Linked DNA regions of Homo sapiens: all the other regions are linked to region 2. The links are contacts of gene promoters, found by promoter capture Hi-C in human tissues and cell types (Jung and others, 2019). All regions are on one chromosome and are shown on one strand. Each heading gives the region's core, a stretch centred on a gene start or on the middle of the fragment in contact. The rest is flanking DNA. Distances are from core to core; before and after follow the strand shown. Region 1 overlaps ZNF407 (zinc finger protein 407). Region 2 holds the start of LINC00908 (long intergenic non-protein coding RNA 908). Region 3 overlaps ZNF407 (zinc finger protein 407). Region 4 overlaps ZNF407 (zinc finger protein 407).

What was found. Contacts are between HindIII fragments. The study calls those that stand out against the background at their distance.
Region 1: a contact is called between a fragment that was not itself captured here and the fragment with the promoter of LINC00908 in region 2, in 1 of the 25 tissues and cell types used here (dorsolateral prefrontal cortex).
Region 3: a contact is called between a fragment that was not itself captured here and the fragment with the promoter of LINC00908 in region 2, in 1 of the 25 tissues and cell types used here (dorsolateral prefrontal cortex).
Region 4: a contact is called between a fragment that was not itself captured here and the fragment with the promoter of LINC00908 in region 2, in 1 of the 25 tissues and cell types used here (dorsolateral prefrontal cortex).

What each region holds. Positions count from the first base shown.
Region 1 is chr18:74,749,115-74,753,848 of GRCh38, reverse strand. All of the region lies in intron 3 of ZNF407 (zinc finger protein 407), which reads right to left. Among named protein-coding and RNA genes, the nearest start is that of ZNF407, 150 kb to the right of the region's middle. The HindIII fragment of the contact is 7,081 bases long and covers 1-4,734 here.
Region 2 is chr18:76,524,885-76,530,189 of GRCh38, reverse strand. LINC00908 (long intergenic non-protein coding RNA 908) reads right to left here and starts at 1,535. Exons shown (of 3, transcript NR_015417.1): 1 at 1,227-1,535. RefSeq lists enhancers at 1-513, 937-1,016, 514-1,152, 1,153-1,793. The HindIII fragment of the contact is 15,253 bases long and covers 1-5,305 here.
Region 3 is chr18:74,607,820-74,612,492 of GRCh38, reverse strand. The region is part of intron 1 of ZNF407 (zinc finger protein 407); the gene reads right to left. Among named protein-coding and RNA genes, the nearest start is that of ZNF407, 12 kb to the right of the region's middle. The HindIII fragment of the contact is 4,267 bases long and covers 1,028-4,673 here.
Region 4 is chr18:74,982,355-74,987,707 of GRCh38, reverse strand. The region is part of intron 8 of ZNF407 (zinc finger protein 407); the gene reads right to left. Among named protein-coding and RNA genes, the nearest start is that of PTGR3, 220 kb to the left of the region's middle. The HindIII fragment of the contact is 3,800 bases long and covers 1-3,679 here.

The sequences.
Region 1 (4,734 bases), core at 1,401-3,900, 1.8 Mb after region 2:
ATCAAAGCCTGGCAGAGACACAACAAAAAAAAAGAGAAATTTTAGACCAATATCCCTGATGAACATCAATGCAAAAATCCTCAATAAAATACTGGCAAAACAAATCCAGCAGCATATCAAAAAGCTATCCACCACGATCAAGTTGGCTTCATCCCTGGGATGCAAGGCTGGTTCAACATACACAAATCAATAAACGTAATCCATCATATAAACAGAACCAAAGACAAAAACCACAATTATCTCAATAGATGCAGAAAAGTCCTTTGACAAAATTCAACAGCCCTTCATGCTAAAAACTCTCAATAAACTAGGTATTGATGGGACGTCTCCCAAATAATAAGAGCTATTTATGACAAACCCACAGCCAATATCATACTGAATGGGCAAAAACTGGAAGCATGCCCTTTGAAAACTGGCACAAGACAAGGATGCCCTCTCTCACCACTCCTATTCAACAGTGTTGGAAGTTCTGGCCAGGGTAGTCAGGCAGGAGAAAGAAATAAAGGATATTCAATTAGGAAAAGAGGAAGTCAAATTGTGCCTGTTTGCAGATGACATGATTGTATATTTAGAAAACTTAAGCTGATAAGCAACTTCGGCTAAGTCTCAGGATACAAAATCAATATGCAAAAATCACAAGCATTCCTACGCACCAATAACAGACAAACAGAGAGCCAAATCATGAGTGAACTCCCATTCACAATTGCTTCAAAGAGAATAAAATACCTAGGAATGTAGGAATCCAACTTACAAGGGATGTGAAGGACCTCTTCAAGGAGAAATACAAACCACTGCTCAACGAAATAAAAGAGGACACAAACAAATGGAAGGACATTCCATGCTCATGGATAGGAAGAATCAATACCATGAAAATGGCCATACTGCCCAAGGTAATTTATAGATTCAATGCCATCCCCATCAAGCCACCAATGACTTTCTTCACAGAATTGGAAAAAACTACTTTAAAGTTCATATGGAACCAAAAAAGAGCCCACATTGCCAAGACAATCCTAATCCAAAAGAACAAAGCTGGAGGCATCACGCTACCTAGCTTCAAACTATATTACAAGGCTACAGTAACCAAAACAGCATGGTACTGGTACCAAAACAGAGATATAAACCAATGGAACAGAACAGAGCCCTCAGAAATAATACCACACGTCTACAACCATCTGATCTTTGACAAACCTGACAAAAACGAGAAATGGGGAAAAGATTCCCTATTTAATAAATGGTGCTGGGAAAACTGGCTAGCCATATGTAGAAAGCTGAAACTGGATCCCTTCCTTACACCCTATACAAAAATTAATTCAAGATGGATTAAAGACTTAAATGTTAGACCTAAAACCATAAAAACCCTAGAAGAAAACCTAGGCACTACCATTCAGGACATAGGCATGGGCAAGGACTTCATGACTAAAACACCAAAAGCAATGGCAACAAAAGCCAAAATTGACAAATGGGATCTAATTAAACTAAAGAGCTTCTGCACAGCAAAAGAAACTACCACCAGAGTGAACAGGCAACCTACAGAATGGGAGAAAATTTTCGCAACCTACCCATCTGACAAAGGGCTAATATCCAGGATCTACAAAGAACTTAAACAAATTTACAAGAAACAAATCAAACAACCCCATCAAAAAGTGGGCAAAGGATATGAAGAGAAACGTCTCAAAAAAAGACATTTATGCAGCCAACAGACACATGAAAAAATGCTCATCATCACTGGCCATCAGAGAAATGCAAATCAAAACCACAATGAGATACCATCTCACACCAGTCAGAATGGCAATCATTTAAAAAGTCAGGCAACAACAGGTGCTGGAGAGGATATGGAGAAATAGGAACACTTTTACACTGTTGGTGGGACTGTAAACTACTTCAACCATTGTGGAAGTCAGTGTGGTGATTCCTCAGGGATCTAGAACTAGAAATACCATTTGACCCAGCCATCCCATTACTGGGTATATCCCCAAAGGATTATAAATCAGCTTGCTATAAAGACACACGCACATGTATGTCTACTGCGGCACTATTCACAATAGCAAAGACTTGGTACTAACCCAGATGTCCATCAATGATAGACTGGATTAAGAAAATGTGGCACATACATACCATGGAATACTACGCGGCCATAAAAAGGATGAGTTCATGTCCTTTGTAGGGACATGGATGAAGCTGGAAACCATCATTTTGAGCAAACTATTGCAAGGACAGAAAACCAAACACTGCATGTTCTCACTCATAGGTGGGAATTGAACAATGAGAACACTTGGACACAGGGTGGGGAACATCACACATGGGGGCCTGTCGTGTGGTGGGGGGAGGGGAGAGGGATAGCATTAGAAGATATACCTAATGTAAATGACGAGTTAATGGGTGCAGCACACCAACATGGCACATGTATACATATGTAACAAACCTGCACATTGTGCACATGTACCCTAGAACTTAAAGTATAATAAAATAAATAAATTTTAAAAAAAAGAATAGACTTTTCAACAAATGGTATTGAGACGTGCGTAGCCACATTAGAAAAGAATAAAATGAACTCCTTCCTAATGATATATCCAAAAAGTAATTCAAAGTGATTCAAAAATCCCAATGTAAGGGGTAAAAAGCTATAAAATCTTAGAGGAATACATCTTTGGGATCTTAAATTAGGCAATGGTTTTAGATATAACACCAAAGCACAAATGACAAAAGAGTAAATTGAAATTCATGAAAATTAAAGAAGTTTGTGCTTCAAAGGACACAATCAATAAATTAAAAAGACAATATCCAGAATAAAAATTTCAGAAAACTCAATAAAAAGACAATACAAAGTAAAAACGGGCAAGGGATCTGAATAGATATTTCCCCATAAAATATATAAAATAGGCAATATAAAGCACATAAAAAGTTGCTCAAGAGCATTACTCTTCAGGAAAATTGAAATCAAAACGTCAATGATATATCACTTCAAACACATCAGGTGAGCTATAATCAAAAAGACAAACAACAAGTCTTGTTGAGGATACAGAGAAATTCAAAAATTCATACACTGCTAGCAAGAAACATTTGATGGCTTCTCACAAAGTTAAACATATAGTTAGCACAAGATCCAGCAATTCTACTCCTATATACCCGAGAAAACTGAAAATTTATGTCCACTCAAAAATCTGTGCAGAAACGTTCACAGCACCGTTAGTCATAATATCTAAAAAGTGAAAATCATCCTGATGACCATGAAATGATGAACGGGTGAATACCAAACGGTGCTGGGTCCACACAATGCAGTATTAGTTGGCCACAAGAAGGAAGCACTGATGCATGCTATGACATGAATGAATCATGAAAACATGCCAGTTGAATAAATTTGGACACAAAAGGCCACATATTGTATAATCACATTCATATGAACTGTCCAGAATAAATCTATAGAAAAGAAAAGCTGATGATTTACATATGAATCAAGTTAAAAAGTAAATGACTTTCCCTCAGCTGAAAAAGAACATACTGCACCACTCATTTAGGTTTTATTTTAAAGTTCACATATCAGTAAAATGAGCGACAAAAGCAATTAACTGTTAAACAATTTTGCATCTTATGTTGGTAGGCAAAAAATACCACAAGATGATAATGTAGGTAAGATATAGTAATGCCTAAAAGAATTCAGGATACTCTCAAAGAAGAAGTAAAATGTACAGATAACTAGGATTTCCATGAGAAGGATGATATTCCTGGAAGAGAAGAAAAGTGTGAGAAAATGTAAACCAGTCTGAGAAGCTTACATATGTGCCAAGGCTATAGCACGGATTTGGGTGAAAATGAGGCTGGAAAGGACTTTCATGGACAAAACTGTGACCCTTGCACCAACCTCATACTTTGTCCAGTGAATTTAGGCCTCTCTTCTGCCTTAGAAAAGTTCCAAAAAAGAATGACAATTTCACACTCTTCTAATTTTTATAGTTTCCAATAAGATACATCTCCAATAACTTATCATACTTCTTTAATTTCCTTTGCCTCCTGTATTAAATGGAATACAAAGCTTTCTATTATTTGGAGTTTTATTCCCCAAATAAGATGTTAAGACTTGACCTACTGTTGTACTTTCAAAAATAACAGTATACTAAAATGTTCACAGACACATATATTATTTTTAAAAACTATCCTTTACTTCCAAACTAGAATGATTCGGGAGCCAATAAATTCTGAAATTTGTGGTAAGGCATCTCAAACAATAAATACAGGAATTTTTTTCTGACATCTCTGCTGCATTCCTCTTTTTCTTTCACTGCAGTTTTAAATTCTTCACAACAGATAACAAAGACAGTATGGATTCTTAAAAAACGGTATCTCAGTTAGGTTTTATGATCATCTACATAGTTAAAACAACATCTAAGTCTAAGTAATAATTGCAGCATGAGGGCAAAATGGGCACCATTAATTTCTAAAATTCCAATACCTTACTGGAATTGATACAGGCCATACCCAACATCGTTGATGAAGTAGTGTTTTCCAGCAAGAAGGCTGGGGGATGTGAAGAAAATATAAGGTAAGGAAAGGGCAGAGCAGAGGAGCCACGATGAGAGGAGAGGGGAGGACAGCAGAGAGGAGACCTGTACACGCGATGCTCTCATATTCCTATGGCTGTGTATAATATTCTGCAAAGGAAAATTGACTGAGATGGAAGCTATTTTGCATGGTACAGTGGCAATGGCTAACAAATGAGAGTTTTGTGGGCTGAATGTT
Region 2 (5,305 bases), core at 286-2,785:
TTGGGAGGCCGAGGTGGGCGGATCACGAGGTCAGGAGATCGAGACTATCCTGGGTAACGCGGTGAAACCCCGTCTCTACTAAAAATACAAAAAATTACCCAGGCGTAGTGGCGGACGCCTGTAGTCCCAGCTACTTGGGAGGTTGAGGCAGGAGAATGGCGTGAACCCGGGAGGCGGAGCTTGCAGTGAGCCGAGATCGCGCCACTGCACTCCAGCCTGGGCGACAGAGCGAGACTCCGTCCCCCCAAAAAAAGAAGTAGCGGTATGTATGATGTTGTTCGTCACAGAAAGCATGGAAAATACAGAAAGACACAGAGAAGAGAGTAAATTCACCCATGGGTCTACTGCCGGGTTAACAGGCACTACCAAGATTTCAGGTGGTGGGGGCGCACGCGCATGCGCACCAACACACGGGCCCTAGAAAAATAAACTCGGGATCCTAAGCGTGTACGCTGCGGTGCCCACACACGCGTCTGCCGTTCTCACCCCGTTTTCTGCTTTAATTTTCTGCTTAAATTGGTCATTTTCTGTGAAATGCACATTCCACTTCTGGGTAGTGTGCACCGCCCATCTCCCCCACGGAGTGCAGGAAGGTGGCAGCGGGGCTGTGTTCCAGGCCAAGGCCACACAGCCCGGGGGGCCGCACGCGGGGGCAGCCTTGGTACACGAGGCCTTTCATTTGTTGGTTTTACAGCTGGAAGAATTCGGATATACTTATTGACCGAGAGAAGAGTCCAAAACTCAGGAGTGGAAAATAACGAAGAATGAAGAAAGGAAACAGGAAGAGGTTGACCTGATTGATGGAAAGGAGCTCCTCTTTCTCCAAAACCAGAAGGAAAAGGAAGATTTAGAGAGCAGAGGAGGGTAAGTTTCCCCCGGATAATATGGGTTCAGTTGCATAATACGGCCAGGATGTTATCTGCAAAGAAGCTGTGGGGAGGAGAAGGCAGAGCAAGGAGCGCAGGGCTGAGACTGTGGGAGATGCAGCCGGAAATGACAAAACAGAAACAAAACGTGACCAAGGCCATTTGGGGTCCAGCTGAAGTTCAGCGGCTTAGATGCGTAGTAAGTCCCATGAGCACTGTTGCACGACTTGCCCACAGCTGTTCACATATGGACTTTGCAGCTCACATTGACTCTGGCCAGGGCGGGAGAGCCGGGGAGCCAGGCAGGTGCGTGGGAAGGGAGAGAAGAAAGGGAAGACGCGGTGCCCATTCCATATTTACCTTAGTAGTCATCCAGACGCACTTCCCTCTCCAATCCCCAAACAAGAAGAGGCAGAAACTGTCTACCAGTTAGACGGGAGGTGTCAGCGCCCCTGGAGGCTGTGGCCATTGCCAGGGAGACCCCACTCTGCACAGCTCACAAACACACCGTGTGTGTGCAGGGTCCTCACCCGCCCTGGGCAGGAAATGGGGGAGTTCTACGTCCACTTTGTCACGCAGACAATGGAGGGGACCGCAGAAGGGGCTTCCCCAAGGACACAGAGCCAGTGGCCGCCTCACTGTGTGCCCCTCAGTGGGCGTTTCCACACTGCCTGGCAACTTTGAGAACAGCCGCTTTCGCTGGGTCTCCAGTGAAACTTGAAACCATTTGCATCTGCAAGTACTTTACTTATTCCATTTCAAAGGCATGCACATTTTTAAAGGGACACTGTTTTTAGCTCCTGCGTCACTGACTCATCCCGCATAATTTGACTTTATGGGACAGGGTCCCCTAAGGAGTGTCCTTGCCTTGACAGTCCTGTCTTGAAAGCTGTGAAGACCAAGTGGTGCCATATATATTGTTTTAAAATTATGGACTACCTAGAAAAGAGGTGAAATAGTAAAAAAAAGCAAAACTTTTAATATTCAATGACAAACACAGACAGAAAATAGGGAAAAATTAAATGTTAATGTGTTGGGATGATTGGATTTTGAATAAATTTTATTTATTGAATTGATATGAAGTTTATGGAACAGGGATAAACAGTTTGTTTCATATGATTATATATTTAGGTATTCGTTGACATACATATATACGTATACATATACACGTATGTATTGCCGTGTGTACATATAGACACATAGCATGTATGTATAAAACATATACATATGTGCCAAATTACAAAACGAGAAGTCGTGTTGCTCATCCTGCTCTATTATAAGAAACCTCAAGCAACAGTAGGTACTGGAAAATGCCAAGTCTGCATGATCCCGGCAAGGGCAGATCCTGCCACTGGAGTTCTGGAATGCATCTCTCCCCACTTGGCAAAGATGCAGGGTGCAGAGGGGGTGTCAGCAGAGGGGCTGGGTGCAGAGGGGTTGCAGACTTACCACAGGAGGACTTTATCAAGAGATGTGGGTTTTCTGGGCATCCAGGACACCCACAATGGGGTGACAGAATTGTCTGTGGAGTGGAGTCCTAGTATTGAACTTGGCAGCTGCTACCGGATGCTCTTCTGGCACCTATGTTTTCAGAAAAACAGGAGCTGGCCAAGAGTATTTGCCAGATTTCTCCCTGGATTGGACTGATTTCTGCACTCAGCCCAGGTTTGTTTTTTTTTTTTTTTGGTGTGTGCCCCCGCGCCCGGCTAATTTTTGTATTTTTAGTAGAGACGGGGTTTCACCTTGTCAGCCAGGCTGGTCTCGAACTCCTGACCTCAGGTGATCCGCCTGCCTTGGTCTCCCAAAGTGCTGGGATTACAGGCGTGAGCCATGGCACCCGGCCTCAAACCAGCCTCAATCTGAAGGACGTGCATACTCTCCACAGGTCCCACAGGTCTTTCTAGGGTCCTTGCCCCTTACGTGCACTTCCTCTCTGAAGAGGTCCTTCCTCCACCATGTTGTCCCAGCCTGAAATTGTCCCTCATTATGGAGACTTGAGTGGTGTCTCCCACTGACTCCTCTCTCAAGGGGTGAGGGTTTGCTTGACCAGACACCAGCAGTGGGGCACACCCCTTCCAGTTCACCCTGATGAGCTCCTTATGCCACCACAGGGTCAAAATCAGGTTTAATAGCAGCAGCATTCGCAGTAGCCACAAAATGGAAACAACTCAAGCACCCCTCCAAGAGGGGGAATGGATAAGTAAAGTGTGCTGTATCCCCACGATGGAATATTATTCACTCATGAGAAGGAGTGAAACACTGGCACATGCCACAACGTGGATGAACCTTAAAAGCCTTATGCTGAGTGGAGGACGTCAGGCACAAAATACCACAGATTGTTATGAGCCCAGTTGTATGAAATGTCCAGAAGAGGCAAATCCATAGAGACAGAAAGCAGATCCGAGGTCGCCAGGGTCTGAAGGAGTCGGGGATGGGGAATGATTGCTAATGGGTCCAAGGGGGCTTTCCTTTCTGCATGAGGACAGTGTTTTGAAACTGGAGGTGATGGTGGCATAACACCGTGACTACACTAAATGCCACTGAGTTGTACACTTTTGATTTTAGGCTATGTGAGTTTTACTTCAGTTAAAAAAATAGATTGAAGGCTCAGAGAGATTTAGGGGTGGGAGGGTAAGGATTTAGGATTCAAAAGAACTTGACTAAGGAGCTGAGAATCTTAAATATATTTCCAGTGTCATTGGGTTACTGGCTGACCTCTGTGTGCTACCTTGGTACCCTACCCCAATCGACGCTTTGTTCTATGAGAAAAAGCATTCTGAGCTTCAAGTAACTGAAGTAACTGATTTATAAACAAACCGTTGGAATATAATCTTTTTCTTTTTAATTGTTGGGGACTATCTGTAATTTAGTCTCTAAAATATAGTTAATCTTTGGCTCTTGCTCTGAATTAATCAATAAAAAAGACATCATAGTGGTAATCTTTGGGGGAAGTGAAATTCAATTTAATCCATTTTTTCTATTTGTTAGCTCCTCCGGTAATTGGTTTGATGGGGAAGAAGTTTGAAGTTATTGGTTAAATAGAGGTTTTTGGATTATCTGTGAATTTCAATTATCCATGCTTCACCTGGCCCCAATTAGCACTAATAATCGAGTTAACTGAATAGAAGTCATTTCCCATCATATCAGTTTTGCTATAGGCTTATTAGTTGTTTCACTAATGGGCCCCCCAAAAGACAAAGCCTCTTTCTCCATCAGGCACTCACACCCCCATACCACAATTTGTCAAACTAGTGCTGTATTGTTAACGGTATGAAACAAATGCTCTTAATAACAAAACATGTAGCTGAGGAGTGAAACCAGAAATGTCTAAAGTGCATTTATAGTCAGAAGGTATTACAAGACATTTCTAAAGTCTTGTTAGAAATTTTAATCAACGTTTTCAAGTGATTTGTATTTTCAATTTCAATTGAGGTTGTCACTGTCTTAATTTATCCTGATTTAAATTAAGACAGCTTTTAAAAGTGCCTGTTAATTTTAGCAATCTACCCATTTTCAGATGTGTTATTTATGTTTACCAATCACAATCTACATGCCTTTTAAGGTTTCAGTTTCTCTTCTTGGACACATTTGTATTTATATTAAACATAATAAATATCTCCCATTCCAAGAGCCCAGTTTTGACCTTCTTTGATCTCTGAGTCCCAGCATCCCTTAACTTGACATATAAATTAGCCCAGCCCCTCCCGGGAGGCTGGGACCTGAGGGTAGTGTTTCCTCCACTCCCTCGCCCCCTTTTGAATCTCCAGCATCATGTTTTTCCATTGCCATGGAGATGCAGCTATGTACACAGAGTGCAACAAACCCAGCGAATGGGAAAAGTCCCGGCTGAGATAGAATTACTAACTAAACAAATGCTATTGGTAACAGGGTGCCAGGGAGGGATACCCAAGTTCTCCTTTTCTCCCCACAATCAGATTACAGGTAAAAGTGCAAACAGCGAGATGAAAGCTGACACAGTGGTTCTTTTAAAGACACAGCGGACATATTACTCTCAGGAAAACACGGCGTTGGGTGCAGAACAGATCGTCACGAGAGCTGTGCAGATGTGGGAGGTTTAGTGCGCCTTTTGTAAAAATATTGCTGTCCTAAACCCCAGATCACGGTCTTATGGCTAAATAAAGAAAATAGAGCAAACAACTGAGAGCCCAACAGCAGCAAGGACTCGGTGAAAAGCCCCGGCGTCCCCTCTGATAGCACTCTCCATATTGTCCTGTGTGGGGCGAATAATAATTGGTCCCTCACTGGCACTGGCACACAGCTACTCGCTGGGGCAGTTTCACTCAAGAATTAATAAATTAATTAATACATCGTTCTTTTTATGGTTTCTAAAATAAGAAAATTGCCTATCCAACCCTCTGAGTACCCGATAAATAGGCTTCTACGTTTTGCTTTTGTAGGTATCATTTATGTCTTTTATT
Region 3 (4,673 bases), core at 1,912-4,411, 1.9 Mb after region 2:
TTTTCACACAAACAGAAAAGTCCCTACGTAGAGTATGCAAAATAAAAAATCATGTTTGTTTTTGAGATATTTGGTATATACAAAAAACTTTTAATATGTGTAAAGGTGTTGTGCAAAATATAACAAAATCCTGAGTGCAGATAATACTTCAAGAAAAACAAATTATCTCTGATAATTTGTCCCTCTGTGTTCCCATCACCTTCCTTCTTATACAGTTATCCACCGACTTGAGTCTTGCATGTATCACTTGTTTTTCTTTATTACTTTATCATATCCATATTTCTAACAATCTACAATTTTGTTTTTGCATGTTTCTAAACTTTAAAAAAAGGGAAAAAACTGTGTATTCTTCTACAAGTAGCTTTTTTCCCCCTTGAGATTATGTTCCAGCTGCGTATTATCCTTGGTGATGAATGCAGCTAACATTCACTCAATCTCACTACTGTACGGGACTTCACTATGGGAATATGATACAATGCAGGCATCTGTTCTCCTCTGATGGACATTGCTCCCAGTCTTTCCTCTTACAAAGAGCGTGACTGTGAGCATCCTTGCACATGTCTCCAGGCACTCATGCGCATGAGTTTCTCTAGGGTAATACCTTTCATATTTTAGCATCACATTCCCTACAGGGCTTGACAGTCAGAAACCTGGCCCATCCTTAAAGTTGCTGATTCAGTAGGTCCACAGCAGAGACCCCAGATCTGCATTTCAAACAAGTTCCCAAATGATGCTGCGAAACAATTCAGAAACCACTGCTCCAAGATAAAGACTGAGTGGAATTACTGGGTCAAAGGATACAGGTATCTCAACTTTACTAGATACTCCCAAAGGCAGCCTATCACTTCCACCAGCTGTATATAAGCATTCCAGTTGTTTCCTGTCCTCCCAACAATATTGTCAGACTTTTTACATTGTTGCCAATCTAATGTGTAAGAAACTATACATCATTTTGGTCCTAATTTGCATTTCCCTAATTACTAATGAAGTTGAGCATTTTTGCATTCAAGTTTCCTCTTCTGTGAAATGCCTACTTAGGTCATTTGTCCCCTTTTCTGTTGTTCTTACTGATTTGTAGTCACCCTGCTGGATACTAACCTTTTATTAGTAATATGTGCTGAATATGTCTATTCTCCCTATGACCTGTCTGTTCACTTTCTTGATGGTTTCTCTTAATAAACAAAAGCTATATCAACATTAGTGTTGTCAAACATATTGATCTTTTCCTTTATGGTCTGCACCCTCTGTGATCTTTTTAAGACCCCTTTCCTATACCAGAGTCATACAACTACTGTCCTGCATTGCCTTCTGAAAGTTTCATAGTTTTGCCTTCTATATTTAAGCCTTTAATTGACCTGCGGTTGATTTTTGTGAGTAATGTGAATTAAAAACATACCCCACCCTCAGGAAGTTTCCTGTTTGGTAAGGACCACATGTAACTTTAGAGAGGATATCAAAAGTGATGGAATATTCATTAGGTGTTAACCATTACTTCATTGAGGTTTATTCTGCTCTCTCATTGAGACAAAAAATTGGAAAATTTCACATGAACATTTGGAAGGTTATTTGCAAACTGTAGTCAGACTATGATCCCCACTTACTACACCCCAGGAAGAAACCTTAAAAATGTCCCAAAATAGGCTGGGCGTGGTGGCTCATGCCTGTAATATCAGCACTTCGGGAGGCTGAGGTGGGCGGATCACCTGAGGTGAGGGGTTCGAGACCAGCCTGGCCAACATGGTGAAACCCCCATCTCTACTTAAAAAAAAAGCAGAAATTAGCCCGGTGTGGTAGTGGGCACCTTAATCCCAGCTGCTTGGGAGGCAGAGGCAGCAGAATTGTTTGGGCCAGGGAGGCGGAGGTTGCAGTGAGCCGAGATGAGCCATTGCACTCAAGCCTGGGGGACAAGAACGAGACTTCTCAACAAAATAAAACAAAAAAAAGTCCCAAAATATTTAAGTCCTATTCTAAAAAACTAAAGAGTTAAGCATTGGGAAAGTACAGGAAAACGAACGTCCTCAAATGGTAATTACCTAAATGGGTAATTACCTATCTGGAGGGTAAGCTGCTTGCACGCATGCACGCACAAGAGAGACCGAGAGGGAGAGGGGAAATGTGGGTTTCAGGATGTTCACCATGAACTGTAGAGAAAAACTGGAAACAACCTACTATCCAACAATGGGGGATGGTTAAAAGTAAAGCTAATGTGGCAATCCATCTACTTGAATACTGTTAGATTACACAGCTCCACAATCATGTGAAAAGATTTCACAAAATTCTGGTAACTTGCAAAAGCAGCTAACAAAATGCACGTATAGTATTCATTTATTCATCAAATATTTATGAGTGGCTTGTGTATTGCAGGTCCCAAGCAAGTCACTGGAAAACAAAAAGAGACTTGTTCCCTGCCTCCAAGAAGCTTACAAGCCTGTGAAGGATATATCCAATATGTTTCTTCCAATGTGCTCCGGTTGGGACAATAAAGGCATATGTGTTTTGAGAATAGAGACAATTTATATTATATAAAGCATATATAATATATACAGCAATGTCATCCACATGATCTACAAATAAAACATACCTACCCAGCTCTAGGAACCACCAAATGGATAAGCCACAGGATACTTAGGGTGACTACCCTCTGATGAACTGAAACACAGTCATGCACTACCTAATGATGTTTTGGTCAACAATGGACCACATACATGATGATGGTTCCCTATCATTACAACGGAGCTGAAACATTCCTATTGCCTAGTGACATCATTTAGCTGTTGTAATGTCTTAGTACAACACATTTCTCACGTTTGTGGTGATGCTGGTGTAAGCAAACCTACTACACTGCCAGTTATACAAAAGTGTAATCTCCTAGGCCTTCGCATTCTCTCACCACTCACTCACTGACTCACCCAGAGCAACTTCCAGTCCCACAAGCTCCATCATGGTAAGTGCTCTAAACAAGTATACCTTTTTTTTATCTTTTATACCATATTTTTACTGCACCTTTTCTATGTTTGGATAGATTTAGATACACAAAATACTTACCATTGAGTTACAATTGCCTACAGCATTCAGTACAGTAACATGCTATATGGGTTTGTTGCCTAGGAGCGGTAGACCACACCATATAGCCCAGGTGTGTAGCAGGCTGCACCATCTAGGTTTGTATACTCTGTGATGTTCACACAACAATGAAATCACCTAGAGGCATTTCTCAAGAATGTATCCCCCCTGCACAGGTAGGGAAAGTCATTCACTGGAAGACAAATGTGAGACAGAGTGCAGAACCACAGCAAAAGAACTGGACAGCTTCCTCGGCTGCCAATTCAATACTGATTGATTGACGGAGATCAGCAAATGCATGTACTTCCAACAGCTTAAGCCTTTACCTCTCCCCTGCTATGTTTGGTTCTAATAAATAATAACAAACCTTCTCAAGATATGAAATACCCCACAGTTAAAGTCAAACTCAAAAGATTCTGATATTATGTTCATTTGTTTCAAACTTTCTGCACCAAAATCAAAAAAAAAATGAGTCATTAATCACAAAGAAAAAAATGTTTAACCTCACAGTACAAAAACCTGACACGTCATCACCTCAACCAAGAGATCAAAGTTCACGTTCACCAGAAGAAGACATATCTATATCACATACCTCCTCATATGATGCACTGAGAAGGACATGATTTCACCCCTGTGCTAGTATTCCCACCAAAAATGCCTAAACCTCAATTTAACAAGAAAGAGCATCAGACAAATCCAAACTGAGGGACATTCTACAAAATAACTGGCCAGTATTCTTCAAAAGTATCAAAGTCATGAAAGACAAAGCAATCTAAAGGAACTGGCCAGGCGCGGTGGCTTACACCTGTAATCCCAGCACTTTGAGAGGCCAAGGCAGGCGGATCACTTGAGGTTAGGAGTTCAAGACCCGCCTGGCCAACATGGAGAAACCACGTATCTACCAAAAACACAAAAATTAGCCGGATGTGGTGGTGCACTCCTGTAATCCCAGCAACTCAGGAGGCCGAGGCAGAAGAATCGCTTGAACCAGGAGGCGGAAACTGCAGTGAGCCGAGATGAGCCACTGCACTCCAGCCTGAGTGACAGAGCAAGACTCTGTTTCCAAAAAAAAAAGAAATCTAAAAGAACACTATCACAGACTGGAGAGACCAAGGAGACATAACAAAATACAATGTGGGATACTGGGTTGGATCCTGGACCAGAAAAAAAGGATATCAATGGAACCATTGGTTAAATTCAAATAAATGTTTTAGATTAATTGTTACCAATTGCCTGGTTTCAATGATTGTATTATGGATACATGAGAACAACAGGAGATGCTGGCCAAAAGGTATATACATAGGAACTTTCTAGACTATTTTTGCAATTCTTTTTTCTAAAATTATTTCAAAGTAGAAAGTTTTAAAAAGTCATTTCAGATGAAAGATAAAAAGACAAAAGGGAGGGATTATTGACTCTAACATAAAAATATGCTATCTCTAACTTCTGTGCTAAAAATGTTCAATAACTACAAATAAGGATTAAGCTGGAATAAATAAATTACAATTGTTCAGGAAGAGCCTGTGATTGGGATACTCTAGAGAACAGAGTAACTCTCCAGGGCACTGAAGTCTTTCCAGATAAATGACCTATGTTATTTCCCCCTTACT
Region 4 (5,353 bases), core at 530-3,029, 1.5 Mb after region 2:
AGTTTTTTTTTTCTAGTTTTGCTTTAAAATTTAATTTCCTTGGCTGTATTTTTCTAACTTTTAATTAGGCCACAGGCACACAAGACAGGCAGCTTCACTAACCCCTCAGAGTTCACATCATATTCTCCTCTCTTCAAGAATTTTATTTGTCACTGAAAGGAGACATTCTCTTATTGCTTAAACAGAGCCCGATCAATAGAGAAGCCTGTGATGCTTCCTGCTAAGGTGGCTCTTTTCTCAACACACATTCTTGTTGGAGGAGATGAACACGGACACCACACGTGAGCTCACCGTTCCTCGCGTACAATCTTACTGGGTTTGGTAATACAGTAAGACCTATAATAATAATTGCACCATTCTCTACATATTGCTGTAATAAATTTCACAGACACTGATGATGTTATCGTCTATCAAAGGAGCTATAAAATCAATGTGATCTTAACAACTTTGGACTTATCTATGTATGGATTAAAAGCTTGAAAAAAATTCCCCGGTACTGACACAACGACACGCCTCTAAGCAGCATGAACTTTCCAGTGCTCAATGCACTTCGGAGTATGCCATTTCTAACACACGCGATGTGTATCAGCTAATGTATTTTGTCTGTTCCTGAAACACTTATATGATGTTTAGTCAAAATGTCTGGTGTTGGGGTTGCCCATCGAGAATAAAAAATATTTTTAAAAAGCTCAAAAATACCTTTACATGAAGGATACTAGTCCTAATATTTTAAACAAATACTAGACACAATATCCTATATGAACATACATTAACATGTTAAAGAATGTATAAGAAAGATAAACATAATACATTTTAAAAAATCTCCCCCTTTTTCTTAGAAATAATATAACTAAGAGAAAAAATAGAAGAATAAACAGGATTTTTGTCTGGAATATACAGGATACGGCATATTCTTCATTCACATACTCATCGAAAAGTGTGTGTGCGTTTGTGTGTGTTTTTCAATCCATATTTTTAAGAACTAAGGACAATCTGAATTTACTTCCAGCTATCTACATTTATTGTAACATAATATGATTGCATGTTTCCTCTGAGAGGGAAAAAATTGGAGATGTTTTCGAAACCACACTGTAGTTGTTAAATAAAAGCTTAAAGTGAAACTGAGAGAGAGAATGCCAAGTATAAAATGGATGACATTCATGGATGGGGGCTACTATTCAATGGCTGAAATGGTTAGACTTTCTTGAATTTTCATATAATACACTAGTAATTTGTAAACTCATGTGGTCCGAGAAACAGTATTAGCTAAATGGCTTCTTTGGAGTATTTAAATTTTATTTTGGTGACAATTCTTAATTTAACAGTAGTGCCATTTCACTATAATATGTCAAAATACTTCCTTTGGTAACAGAGTACATGACGTAGTTAAAGTTTTCTGGCAGTGCATCTAGCATCCTAAAGTATGTTAACTATTCCCACCGAGAGCTCACATTTATTCCTATTTCACAGTAAGTTGTCAAACGTCAGCAGAAAAATCAACACTAGACTGCATTTGTATTTATTAGTTTGTATGCCGAAGTCTGTCTTATGGTGAAACTGCTGTGTGCTGTGAGGGGCAGTGGATGTGTCTGCATACAATGAGTGCCAATGCTGAGGACACACAGTGACATGGAGATGGCAAAAATGCTGTATGTTCACACAGGATGCTGCAGTACACACACTGCTTTCATATTCCATCCTCATAAGTATTCTATGAGCCAGTCAACAAGAAATTATTTTCATTTTACAAAGATTATAACTGAAGTTCAATCAGGGAAACATATCAGTCCATAGTCTGGTGGCAGGGCTAGACTAGAACTCTGATGTTGGCAGTCACAATTCCATACGCTCTGCCTGGAAAAAGTGTGGTCTAAGGTTAGGAAGGCCACGGGGTCCATTTGCTTCCTTCCTGTTTCACTGTCAAGCAATGACAGTTTTTTGTACTACCCTGGCTGTTCAATGGCCCAAAGCAACAGGCAGAGTTGGGCCCCACGTGTGGCTCCTGTCCCAGCAGTGAGTGGCAGCTCAGAACAGCGCCAGAAGGTCCCTTCTGCTCGATCCTCTCTAAAGGCCTCCAGAATGGAATGATTTAGAGCCACACATTTCTTTTTCTCTTAATTCCGAATTTTAACATCGGTTATTAGTTGGAAGACTGGCTTTCCTCCTTATTTTTGTTTGCTTTCCCTAAGGATAACACTAATTTAGGTGGTTGTAATAATTAGCCAGGAACTCAAAGATTAGTCTAAAGTTTGTTCTCATAGTTCCTATTAATAAACACTTAGTAGACTCCAGACTTTCCTCATGTCAACGACATCAACAAAAAGAAGTTGAATTAATATGATATAGGAAACACTGTAACTCTAAAATAACTAATTCTCTGTATTGAATGATCAGCAATATTTATTCACCTTTTCATGTTTTATTTTTCTTCCTACACAGGAACATATTAATGTATAAAGGGTATTTTAAGGAGGTAAAAATTACCAGAGTAGTGAACAAAGTTAAAGCTGAAACTGTTTAACAGGGTGATTCAAATAAAGAGGTAAAAATAATACCAACAAAATGTATAAAGAAAAGACTATTCTTTTATGAATATAGGATGCACTAATCAGAACTGTGCTCAAATATCGACAATGCATTCGGTCTTTGGGGTCACTAATGTATCACTGCATATATTATTAGAAAAGGTAATTTATATTGCTGAGAGCTAGCACACTACAAAATTCTAAAAATACTGTAATATATTTTTCAAATTTGGACTCAAGAGTTAAAAATAAATGAACAGATCTTCAAAAGGTAAACAATTTGACTCTACGCACATTCAGAATCAGAGCCAATGATCCTGAGTGGACTAGAGAAGTCCAGTTATGTGATACTTTGTTAATCACAAATGCAGGGCCAGCTCTTCACCATCTTTGATCCCTGGAAACTTTTTGGCAGAGTGGATCGTCTTTGCTTCAACAAATTTCCATTTTATAATTAATGGTGGCATTTCTGCCCAAACATAGCATTAAATAAATCTCAGAAACAATACGGGATTTTCTTAACCATCATTTAGTTTTTAGGTTTTGGGCACTATGGCACATAGTTGGTTATTAACATCCATTTATTGGATGTTGAGCAGGTAACACAAAGTTAAGAATGAACTGAAATCATGTTTTAAGACCTATAAAAGGTCATAACAACTTACATGCTGAACCTAAATGAACTCTAAACATAAACTACATACAATTTGATATGGAATTAAAAATTGGACATAAAACCAATATGTCATATATTGTAAACATAATAAAAATTAAACTTTTAACTTGCTGATCTTATTAAATTTTAGAATAGTTTTTGGCAGGAATGATTTGGATGGCCCAGGTACTTTTAAAAAAGATGTGATGACTTTTTTTTTCCTCTGGTAACTTCAGTTGCAGTGAGCAGCGGCAGGAACATTTGCAGCACTCACCTGAGGTATGTGAGGGGCAGCGCAGGCTTAGGCGAGGCTCGCTGGGAGTGGCTAACGACCTGGACAACGAGGTACACAGAGAAGAACCCTAGTCCGAGAGCTAGTTCTGTTAACTACTGGTTATAGAAATGTGGACAAATCCCTAGCCTTTCTAAAGTCAATTTGATTTTCTATAAAAGAAGAGAGATGGTTTTCCCTCCTCAGAGGGCTGTTATCAAGTAATATGACAGAAATTGTCTATGACCTGCCAAATACTATTACAACAGACTGATGTATAATTATTAAAAACATCTATACAAGAAGATCAAATGAGATAGACCTGCCAGTTCTTTCCCCTTCATCTTTGCTAACTCTCCAGTAGCTACAGGCTGAGCTGCTCGGTGCCAGGCTAACAGCAATGCCACCAGGAGCCATGACGGGTGTGGGACTCCTTTCTCCTCTTAGGCTCCACAGCCAGTGTGGCCTCTCTCTGTCACTAGCATGCTGAGGAAAAGACGGTGAGGTCACCATGGATGCTCCTGGCGTGTCCCAGTGCCTATCCTGCTTCTCCAAATTCAAAGCCACAACTCCTGTTCATTTTCCTTCTAATTGCTATGTTTGTAAAACTAAATAACTTAATTTTGTTTAGCTTTGGGCCTGGCAAATATTTCCTCTGTATAGAAGTCATATTCTTCATGACTACCCAAAGACCGACTGACTCATAAATCATTCAAAAAAGCAACAATACTAGCCACTAATTATGTGCTAGGGCCTTAGGAACTGAGCAAACAAACAGAAAAAAACTCACAGAATATCACGGTTGTTATACGCAAGTTTATCATGTGATTCTAGCACTTCCTATTTTCATTTGGGAAATTACAAAGTGAACACTTCTTTAGGAACAAACACTGCATGCTGTAGAATGGCTTACACAGCCTAAGATAACACCTGACTGTGCCTACCTTAATGGGGCCATACCCCCAAGTGAGAACACAATGGCAGGAAAAGGGACCTCTAGCAGCAAGCTCTGAATGAGGGGACCATAAAGCGTGAAACAGCAAAAGCCGGGTACTACTCAAATCGCAAAACTGATTTAAAAAAAAAATAGTGCAGTTTAAGGGAAGATGATGCAATCATGGAATTAGTTATTAAAACAATAGGAAAGTGTTTTCTGCCACACTTTGCTCCCTTTGATCCACATGGCATAACTAGTTGGCTTGGTTTTTGAAAAACATCATGTTCTTGGTTTATAAAAAGCTATTACAGTAGCAGCATTATTAGGAAAATTAAATGATGATAAAAGGAAAAAAATTTTTTTTCAGACAACTTTACACTTGGGAAGTAAGCCTTTCAGGAATAACAATGAACAGGGTTGATGAGTTTCTTTGGAAGAAAAGAAGTTCCAATTCATCAATTTTTTAAAAATGCTACTGAATAGAAATGACAAGACCTATCAGTGATAAAAGTTTCTTTTTTATTTTACATAATTTGGAACCACCAGAGACAGATTTAATTTGCCGTTTTAGAACAAAAATTCAATGTCTGCTTGTTAGATGCTACAATATTTTTATCTATCTACCTGCTGTGGGATGAAGAGAGGAAACAGAGGTGACGCTCCTAAGACAGTGACGAGAGGTTCCTCCCTTAACAGGCAACGCCCTGATTACTGGCCACTGGAGTATGAGTGATAGCTGCATCCCTGATGAGTAGCAAGGGAACTCAGTAATAAAGTCTGAGCTTTGTAAGTTTCCAATGATTGTGGTGAACTGAATGCAACTTTATCCAAATCAACAGTCACTGGAAAATGCTAATTACAGATTAACTCGGTAAGTATTCCATAATCGCCAATAATAATTATTGGATTTTCTTATTTTGAAGGAGGTAAGTTAATTTCATATAAAGCAAAGATTCAACAGTGGT